Linked DNA regions of Homo sapiens: region 2 is linked to region 1. Evidence: promoter capture Hi-C in 16 types of primary human blood cells and fetal thymus (Javierre and others, 2016). All regions are on one chromosome and are shown on one strand. The core of a region is centred on a gene start or on the middle of the fragment in contact, and the rest is flanking DNA. Distances in the headings are between cores, read along the strand shown. Region 1 holds the start of CHM (CHM Rab escort protein). Region 2 overlaps CHM (CHM Rab escort protein).

Region 1 (4,904 bases), core at 647-3,146:
CTGTTTCACTTCTGATAATACTAAAAACTTGCTTTACATACCAAGGCAAATGACAAAGTGGTTTACTGAACAGTACATTATACTTCTCAGGGGAATCTGTTTTACAGAAAATACTAATCAAAGACCATATCTTAAGAGAGTTGTGTAATACAACTGGATGATCTATAAAAGAAAGTAATGAAACATGTACAATGTTGCTAATGATTATGGTAAAATGCAAGAGAAATGCAGTAAAAAGCGTATCAAAATACATTTTAAAGCATTTTCATGTAAATATTTACAATTAATGGACACTGAACATCTTCTAAATATAAGACACATGATAGTGGTGGGCAGATATAAAGGCAAAGATGGTAAGCACTATGAGGACAGGGACTCGTCTCATCCATCTATTAGGGGAGTCAAAATCAAGTTTGGTTTAGCAAACATTTATTAAATTCCTACTATGCACCGGGCTTAGGTTAGGTGCAGGAGTGAAAAAGATAAATGAGACTTGGTGTCTGTCATGCTGTACAGGGGTTTATAATTATGGTATTGCATGTCTGGGTGTGTATTTTTGTGTGGATATATGGGGATATGTGTACTCTATAGGAATCGTCATAAATGCAGTATGGCGGGTTAAGACAAAGTCTAGCACCATGTAGGGAAACAGCCCACACACGGAGACGAAAGGAGGAGGAGGTGGAAGCCCAGCGACATCCTGGGAATAACTGTTAGCTAGAGAATGGGAAGATCATTCCATGCTGAAAGAACAGCATGAGCGTGGTCAGAGACTGGAAAGAAAACAATGTCTGGGGAACCACAAGCATCTTAGCGGATAGGTGGTGTCAGGGAAGGCCCACTACTGCACATTATCTTTGATTTATTTTGAAACTCTTGTAAAATAACTACACAAGAAATTTCTGTCGTCAAAAAAGTATCCTCCTTCATTCCCAGCATCCTTCCCCTTTTGCTTTGGTGTTGTCAGACAGCGGAGTATTAAATAATCGGGGGCAGGGTGGGGGGCGGTTGGAGGGAAGCGGTGGGAGGCGACAGACCTTGAAGATACTTATGAGAGCTATGTTAGCTGTTAGACATAGACGACCTAAAGCCCCTCATCAGATACAATCACTTTAATATAAAGACCATTTTACCTTAATTATTTCTACGGTAGCTTATGGAAACTAATAGATTGGAAACTAAATGTAAACTAAGGAGAATCTTACATGAACTTATCTAGTTGGTGCGGAAAATCGAATTCAGACTCAACAGACGCTTATCCAGCGCAACCATGCTTTCATATATTTTTTCCCTCCTGTAAAGCAAGGCTAATTTATTGCCCGAGTGGCTGTCTGGACTAACTGGAACAAATACGGACGCGGTGGGAGTTCCATTCTGGCGAAACTAGGGTGAGAGGTTTTTTGTGGGTTTTCATCGAGGAGACATGGAAACGAAAAAGATATGGAATATATTCTGAAAGTATTGGTGTGAAAAACCATGCCTCGAGGGCCAACACGAAAGTACAGAAACGATGGCGGGAAACAGTTTTTTAGGCTGGAATGAAAGTCTCCTTTGTTCACAGAGCAAACCGCCTTCAATTTCACTCCGCTCTCCGTGTCTCCTAACAATTTTGCTTCAGTATTGTCAAGGGGTATCCAAGTCTCCCACATTCATCCTAGCTAACGGAATAAAAATCTACATTTCTTTCCTACTTCAACCCTCCAGGCTAAATGAGCTACAGCATTCAGCCTGGAAAATGAGTCGAGCTTTTAACTTACGTGTAAACATTTTAAATATAATACTGTAGTCGCCTGCCTGGACCTTCCACCCAAGAACTACAACACCCAGAATGCACTGTTTTCTTTTCCGCCTTCCACGGAGGGAATGCCTAACTTGATCTCATTTCCACAAGTAATAGTCACATGACACGTTTCCCGTCAAGATGGCGGATACTCTCCCTTCGGAGTTTGATGTGATCGTAATAGGGACGGGTATGTGTAGCCTGGTGCTTCCTGGACAAAGTTTAGGAAGACTGTCTTGTTTCTGTTTTTTCTGTCAGTGGCGAGTTTTGGGACAAACATCGTGGGTCGAGAGTGGGAGGGAGAACTGAAAGGAAGTGAGGTAGTCCGGAGTCAGCGCGGGAGTTGGCAGTTACAGGGAGGGGCTGGGACCCGCAGTGCTTATCGCCATTTGAGTAGGGGTTGATCTGGTCGATGCTGATTGCTGAGGTTGGTTGCTGCGGTGATTCCTGTTAATTTCCTTAGAGGGAAGTGGATGTGCAGTGTCATGAAATGGAGGGTCGGGATTTTATCAACGGAGACGACTTTGGCAAGACATTATGATTCCTTCCTTATTGATTTCAAGGTGATATTCCCCATCATTTTGTCTCGCCATTTCATAGGACTTTTTCATAGATTTGTATGATCTTAGCATACATCGCAGCTCAGACACAGCTTAATCCTCAGTTTTACAAGAAAGATGCTCAATTATTGCCCATGTGCGTATGAATTTACTAGGGAAAGTAAACGGATTCTATTTTGTTGAGAAACCTAGGGAATTTTATTTTGTTGAGGTAGCCATTATTCCTGCTTTATGGTGCTTAAAGCATCTTGCTTTCTACCATCAATAACTAAATGTGCTGAGAATAAGGTCCTGAGTTCCAGTTCAGGTGTGTGACCTTATCTAACTCTTGTTTTCCCGTCGTTTGTTCTTCATGTTTTGGGTGGAACCAGAAACTCCTCTGCAGTTTCTAGTTGACATATTCAGTGTACAACACGTAGCAGAACACATATGGCAGCAATTTCAATTTTTTTTAATAGTGTAAGGGATGATCATTTTAGATGGAATGAAATAGGTTGTTTGATGGGGTTTTTTACTGTTTGTAGAATGTGGTAGGCCAGAGAAGCTCTGGTGGATGGGACCCTGTCCATTGTGTTAATGAATTCAGTTCGTTGTCTTCTCATACAGCCATGATTAGGAGCAGCCATGTTTTCAGGTTGGGAGTAAAAATAATAGCTACCTGTTTTCGAATGCTTAAAATTTCCTAATCACTGTGCTAAGCACTTTACAAGCCGAACATAATCCTCACAACCTTGTTAGAGTAGTAGGTACTCTCTGCATTTTGTAGAAGAGGAAAAGGGGACTTGGAAAAGTTGTAATTTGCTCAGGATCACACAGCTGGTAAATTTCCAAAGGCCCATTCCATCCCAGGAAAACAGTCAGTGGTTCTGATCCTCAGAGTTGACCCATATTCGTAGAAACAATTGAGAAAACTTGGTTTTAGGTCTTGCTTAGTGCTAGTATGAATTGCTTGAATTGGGAGGGCCAGGCACTAAATCTCTCTGAGCCTCAGTTTCCTTGTTTTTGAATATAAGGAAGGTAAAATAGATGGTCTTTATGTTGTCTAACAAAAAATGCCTGGGTAACAGTTCTCAGAACAGCATGGACAGGTTTATTCTTAGCCTGAAAATAACTGCATGGCTGCAAATAACCTGGTTGTAGCTGCTATGAACAGATGTTGGATGAGAGCTGGAAAGAGCCAATGGACTATTCATTTTTTCTTTTAAGTCTATACTAAAACTGAGAACAGCATCCATTTTGGAATAGTTGTTATACCATACTTGAGTTTTATAATCTTGCTTTTTTTGTGTAGGAACTTGAGGTGTTTTTAACAATTTTTTTAATCAACAATTTTTTTTTTCAGGTCTGGGTTCAAATTTTAATTGATGAATGTTAATTCTTATGAATGATGCTAATGTTTTTCATAAATATTTTGCCTTCTGTACAGTTCAGAATTGGAAGACATCCATCCTGATGGAGTCTGTTATGGTAGAGGTAGGAAGTTACAGTGAGTGAGCCAGAGAATTGCATCAGGTGACATCGCTTATATTTGGAAAAATACTCATTTTATACTTATCCCAGTGAGTGCAATGTTATTTTTCAGTGTTTGGGAAGAACTTATTTGAAGTTAATCTTAAAACTTAAATTTTTCATATTGTTTATTGGTGACACATTCTAGGTTTTATCAAGCACATTGCTTAAATTTATGATATGTAATTTTGCTTTTAGGTACATCAAAAGTGTAAAAATTGAATAAAAGAGTCATTCCCCAAATAAATGATTCCAACAATTCCAATCATGATTTAATTTGATTTATTTTTTAGTGTGCTTGGGATATTTCTCTTGTGAAATAGTTTGCTGAAAGTAGCCTTTAAAATGTTTGCTTTATTAAATGTATTACATTGAGCAAATCATAGAAAAAGCAGTGTTTCATAGATTCAGTTGTATTAATAAAAGTAGAAGCAATAATGCATGCATCAGAAACATGAAGAAATAGGCTATTAGATATACTTTTTAGCAGATTTAGTCCTAGTTAAAATGTCATAAAGGAACAATTGCTTCATCAAGTATAATCATGGAAGATAATATTTTATAATCCCTTTCACCTTGATTAACTTGCATTATCATTTTCTGTAATGCAAGATGGAAATTGTTCCTTAAGATCATATTTTCGAGAGATTATGGAAAAAAATAAACTTTGTATTTTCTTAGTTAAGCCCATTTCCTTCTGATTAGAAAATACAGTAAATATCTCTTGAACATCCAAAGACAGAAGAGTAAGCTAAAGTGGAATTGCGGAAAAAATAGAAGAAAATGGAATAAAGAAGGAGGGCCAACTGGAGTCTCAAGGGAGAGGATAAAAATAGATATATGTGGTAAGGGTCTAGAAGGTGCTCTTCAGCTTGGGTACAGAATTGTCATTTTCAGGGTATTTTGCCATTTAAAAAGTCATTTAAATGACAGTTTTGTGGATTATAGACAAGTACCATTGGTTGAACGTTAAAAGTCGTCCCAGTAACATTACATCTCACTGGAGGTGACTTATCTGGAAGCCTGTGTAATCTGCAGCACAGCAGAGCCAAGAA
Region 2 (4,811 bases), core at 2,252-4,751, 170 kb after region 1:
TTATTTAATTACTGTGTCACAGTGGCGTATAATATATAAAACATTAAATCTTAATGTTTTAGATGTCATGTAATAAGATAAAATGTATAATTCTCAGTGTTTTCAACTTCTCAACCACTTTTTTCTTTATACAAATCACACTTTTTACACTTTTTATTTTTAATCCTGTGCTATGCAAATACTGTACTGTATGTAGTCTTAAGTGTGTGCTCAAGAATGTGCTTAAGACATAAAACTACCTCAGAGTTCACTTATACTTTTTATTCTCTTTAATGACTTTTCATAGATGTCACATTGCCTTAAATTTGGTTTGATTTAGAATTTGTAAAATCATACGTATGCCACTGAAGTTTACCTTCACATCATATGGGAATAGTATATATGAAAGGTTCTTGAAAGGCAAATAAATAGTTCAATAAACAAGGGAGGTACATTTCATTAACATACTACCTTATAGTGGTGGAGAACATAGGCTAAGTTCAAATCCCAGTTTTTACTAACTACTTGACTAACCTTAGGCAAGTTACTTAATTTCTATGTGCCTCAGCTTTCCTATCTGTGAAATAGGAATAATGATACTATCTGCCTCAGGACCGTTATTAGTATCAATGTTACTTAAGCTGATATTTTGATAGACTGATAGGAAATCATGATTATCCAGTAATGCAGGGGTTTTTCTAAGCAACTTTGGGTTAGCATCGTTATTGCATCTTTTTTTAAAGTAGTAAAGTTATGTTTTGTAAAATCTATAAGTCCACTTAAATTTTCCTCCCCTCAGCTAATTTGGTTCAAGTTACTGGGATTGTTAAATAACTGAAATGTATTTGTTTATTGTGTTTTTCAAAGCTAAACAAGCCATATTTTTTTTCACAGAGTTCATCTTTCAGGACATACCCAATATATTTATTTCTATTCATCTTATATCCTAAGTGAATTTAATATGAGATTTACTTTCTTTTAAAGTCATTTGTAAATGAACAAAACATTATCTTTGCAGCCCTTCCATTCGACATTCATTTTCATGTTCTTTGCAGTACTTACTCATACACTAGACATTTTGAATTTTTTTCGTACATACTAATCAGGCAATAACAGCTGTTTTATTCTGGGATTTGATGTTACAGGATGTTAGTTATCTGTGATATGATTATATATTTGTGAATATATAATGTGAAATATATATATGATGTATGTAATAATCCAGAATTTCATGTAGGTACTGGTTTATATACTTTTTCTGCTTTTGTGACCCTAGTTTTAAAATGCTATATACCTTTTATAAAAATGAGTTAGATATTGATTTAAAACAATTATCAGTGCCTTTTTCATTTGCTTTTTGAAAATGTGACATTTCAAATTATTATTGTTAGTATTATCACAAAACAAAGATTTGATTTTATTATATGTAAACTAATTTTTCTTCCTGATCTTAAGGTGATGTTCTGGAGTTCTTAAATTCTACTGAGAAAGTATAAGCCGACTATAGACTTTTTCATAGTTGAATTAAAAAATTAAATTGTGTGTCATATATCATCAAACTCAGTTCCTTACTTGCTACCATAGAGAAAGTGTGTCTCTGAGGTTCTCTGTTTTATTGATACAGTCATATCCTCATTTGTGCTATATTACATAAAGTACATGTGGCCTTTATAGTTATATGAAAGATATGTTACCAGCCACATTGATCTCTATGTAAATTAATTACATATTTCTAGTTAGGTTACACAACAAAGCCTACTTGCTGACTAGCCTATAAATAAAGATTCTTTAAATGCATTTGGAACAATTTTGCCTGCTTGTATAGAGTGAATGACTGCTGTATGTGGTAACCTCAGAAGCTTGAGGAATAGATTTCCTACCTTTTACAGCAAGCATTTACTTAGGTTTTACATTCACATTTGTAATGCCATCCGTTTTGATTTAAAATCTGTCATCATTGAAAGAATTGTAGCTGGTGAGTAAGGAATTAGCTTCGTAAATTTGAGACCGGAAGAGGTCTTAAAGATGGACTAATTGCACCCCTTCATTTTAATTATGAGGACACTGAAGCCAGAGAGAAAAACTGACTTGGCCAAGTAGATATAGAGAGCTGACGTAATACCAGACCCACGTAATCATCCTATAGTATGTCACTCTGCTACTGTACATTGGACTTGTTACTTTTAAATGTGCTCATTATTGTGCACATTCTGAGCAGAAATCCTACTTCTCATGTGTTTCAAAACAACTCGTAAGAGCGATCAGCATTCCAAAGGCAGTTTTGGAGAACTGAAAGTGTGTTGTTATTTCTAGTTTTGTGTTGTTACTTCTCACTTCTAAATTAAAACTTATTTTGCACTAAGATTTCTTTAATGCCAATACAAATCTAAGTGTATTGCCAAAAGAGGGATTGTGATAGAAAACACATTTTTTCATTAAGTCTTTGGCCATTTTTAGCTCATTAAGCCTTTAAGCAGTTGCTAAATGAAGTCAAAGGAGCATAGTTTATAAAAAGATATTAATTTTTTTTTTGTTCAGTTATCTCACATGGTGCCTGTGGGAAATGTTTCCACTTGTATTGCATCTTCCACAATCTTAGTGATAGTTGTCAATTGGTACTAATGAAACGTAATACTTTTAGGAAAGCATTTACCCTGTATGATCTAATTTGTGGTCGTTGTTGGCCTGTATTGAGCAAGTTCATTATTTGGAGAAGAATTAAAGTCACATAGATGCAAAGAAGTATTTTACATAATTGAATTTCAGTAGAAATGTGATAGCATGTTCTACATGTTTGGTTTTGAGTTTACCTTATACCCTTAAGGTCTTCAGACTTTTTGCTCATTTATCCCTTGAACCCTTTACAAGTTGACATACACAGTTTTTCATCAGAAGAGTCAAATAATTGCAAAGAATATAATTTCTAACATCGTAAATATTGACTTATAGTAAAATTATAACATCAGTCATTTAAATGTATTCAGTGGAATCTAAGTATCAGGGATATTTGATACCCATCACCCATTTAAAAAAATAAATGGAAATAGAATTTTTTTGAAACTTTCTAGGGCAATAAGCTTCTAATCTAAAACTTTCTTCTGGATTTAGTAATTAATGCAATTATTATTTCTACAGAATTAATCTAACTGTCATAAATATATTACAGTTTTGGTAAATAAATATTAAACAGAATAAGTAAAATTTCACTGAATGAAGTAGGAGAGGTGGAGCTGAGCATCTGTATGAGAACCCCCTTGTAGGTGATATAACTTGTGAAAAGTCCTCTTGTATCCTCACACACATCCCAGTTTGAATGCTGCTGACTTAAGTGACTGACTGTGCCTTCTGCAGGAGATTATTAGAATCACATAATATAATTTAGTGACTAAAGGCAGACACTCTGCAGGCAGGCCATATGGGCTTCAATTCGAGCTCTGAGTCCCAGCCCTTCCTTCTACTAATTGCATGACTTTAGGAAATCTGCATAGCCCCCCATCCCTGTTTTCTCATCTGTAAAATGAGAATAACAGTTTGCTGTTGCACAAGTAAAGTGAAATGATACTTGTAGCATGCTTAAAATAGTGTCTAACACATGCATGTTATTTGTACAGTCAACTCTAGATATTCTCTTAAATGTATTTTGAGAATTTTATAGATATATCTTAATGTGTTTATAAGCATTTCTCAGACAGATTTAAATAATTTGAGATTATCAATTGGTACTTCCCTTTCCTCTTTCCTGGTAAATCAGATAATTTCCCAAATTTTATACAAGAAACTAATCAGAATTTCCCCATGAATATGTACACATAGATCTATTGGTATGGGAATGCATATCTATTTAAACACAGGAATACTTGATGTTTGTCCGTGACAGTGAGACAAATTATAATTAACATTTATTGAATACCCACTCTAAGTAAAAGTTGTATTTAACAAAAAGGAGAAAAATCGACTCTAAAGCTTGCCCCTGCAAAGGACTTACAAGATATATTAAGATTAATAAACAAATGTTGAGAATCAATGAATTTTAAAAAGAGCACAATCAGCAATCTCTGATTTGAAGAGAACCAAAATGAATTCAGTAATCTATACTAGAAGGTGACCTAGGTAACAGGAAAAGCAGGAACGGTAAGGGGAAAAAGTAGTTATTCATACCTTAAATTTGTATTAATAGATCAATTAACAATGTAGCCTCTAAGCAAAGTCAATGTATAGGGATTATAATTCAGCTTATGAATGTCTTTGTAAGAATTGTTATAAAACTCATTAATCATGAGATGATAATCTTACTTCACTACTAGACATTTTTCCTAGCATAACCTGAACTGTCTGTTATGTTGCTAAGAAATATAATGATATACTAACTTAAGTGTATCTCTTTAAAATATATGTCCTGTTTAACAGAACCAATAGTTTACCCATTAAGATATTTTCCAAAATATACTTATTTATGTCCAGGTTCATCTGCTTTTTCCCAAATAAACATTAACAAACAAGCAAAAAACTGGAAAATTGAGAACTTTGGGCATTGGTATTTCACGAGATTTTGAAATAAGAGACAGGATAGATTATCTCCTATGGATTGCTGACCTTTGTAACTGCATACCCTGTTTACTTCAGTAATTATCTAGGAGGATTAAGTCTCATCCCAACTAATGCTATACAGCATTTGAAAAAAGTTAACCAAAATAATTTTTGTTATGAAGCTCATTATATCTTTGGAAATAATTAGTACCATACATCCTACAGTATCCCAGAACCAATGAGAATCATTGTTAAATTCATGTGAAAACAATGCTTAAATAAGGTAGACCTATTATTAGGCCATA

What was found. Contacts are between HindIII fragments. The CHiCAGO score rates a contact against its expected background, and 5 or more counts as called.
Region 2: a contact is called between a fragment that was not itself captured here and the fragment with the promoter of CHM in region 1, in 1 of 17 cell types (non-activated CD4 T cells). The highest score is 5.9, in non-activated CD4 T cells.

What each region holds. Positions count from the first base shown.
Region 1 is chrX:86,044,550-86,049,453 of GRCh38, reverse strand. CHM (CHM Rab escort protein) reads left to right here and starts at 1,896. Exons shown (of 15, transcript NM_000390.4): 1 at 1,896-1,970. The coding sequence starts at 1,922. The HindIII fragment of the contact is 19,030 bases long and covers 1-4,904 here.
Region 2 is chrX:85,880,175-85,884,985 of GRCh38, reverse strand. The region is part of intron 12 of CHM (CHM Rab escort protein); the gene reads left to right. Among named protein-coding and RNA genes, the nearest start is that of MIR361, 21 kb to the left of the region's middle. The HindIII fragment of the contact is 886 bases long and covers 3,059-3,944 here.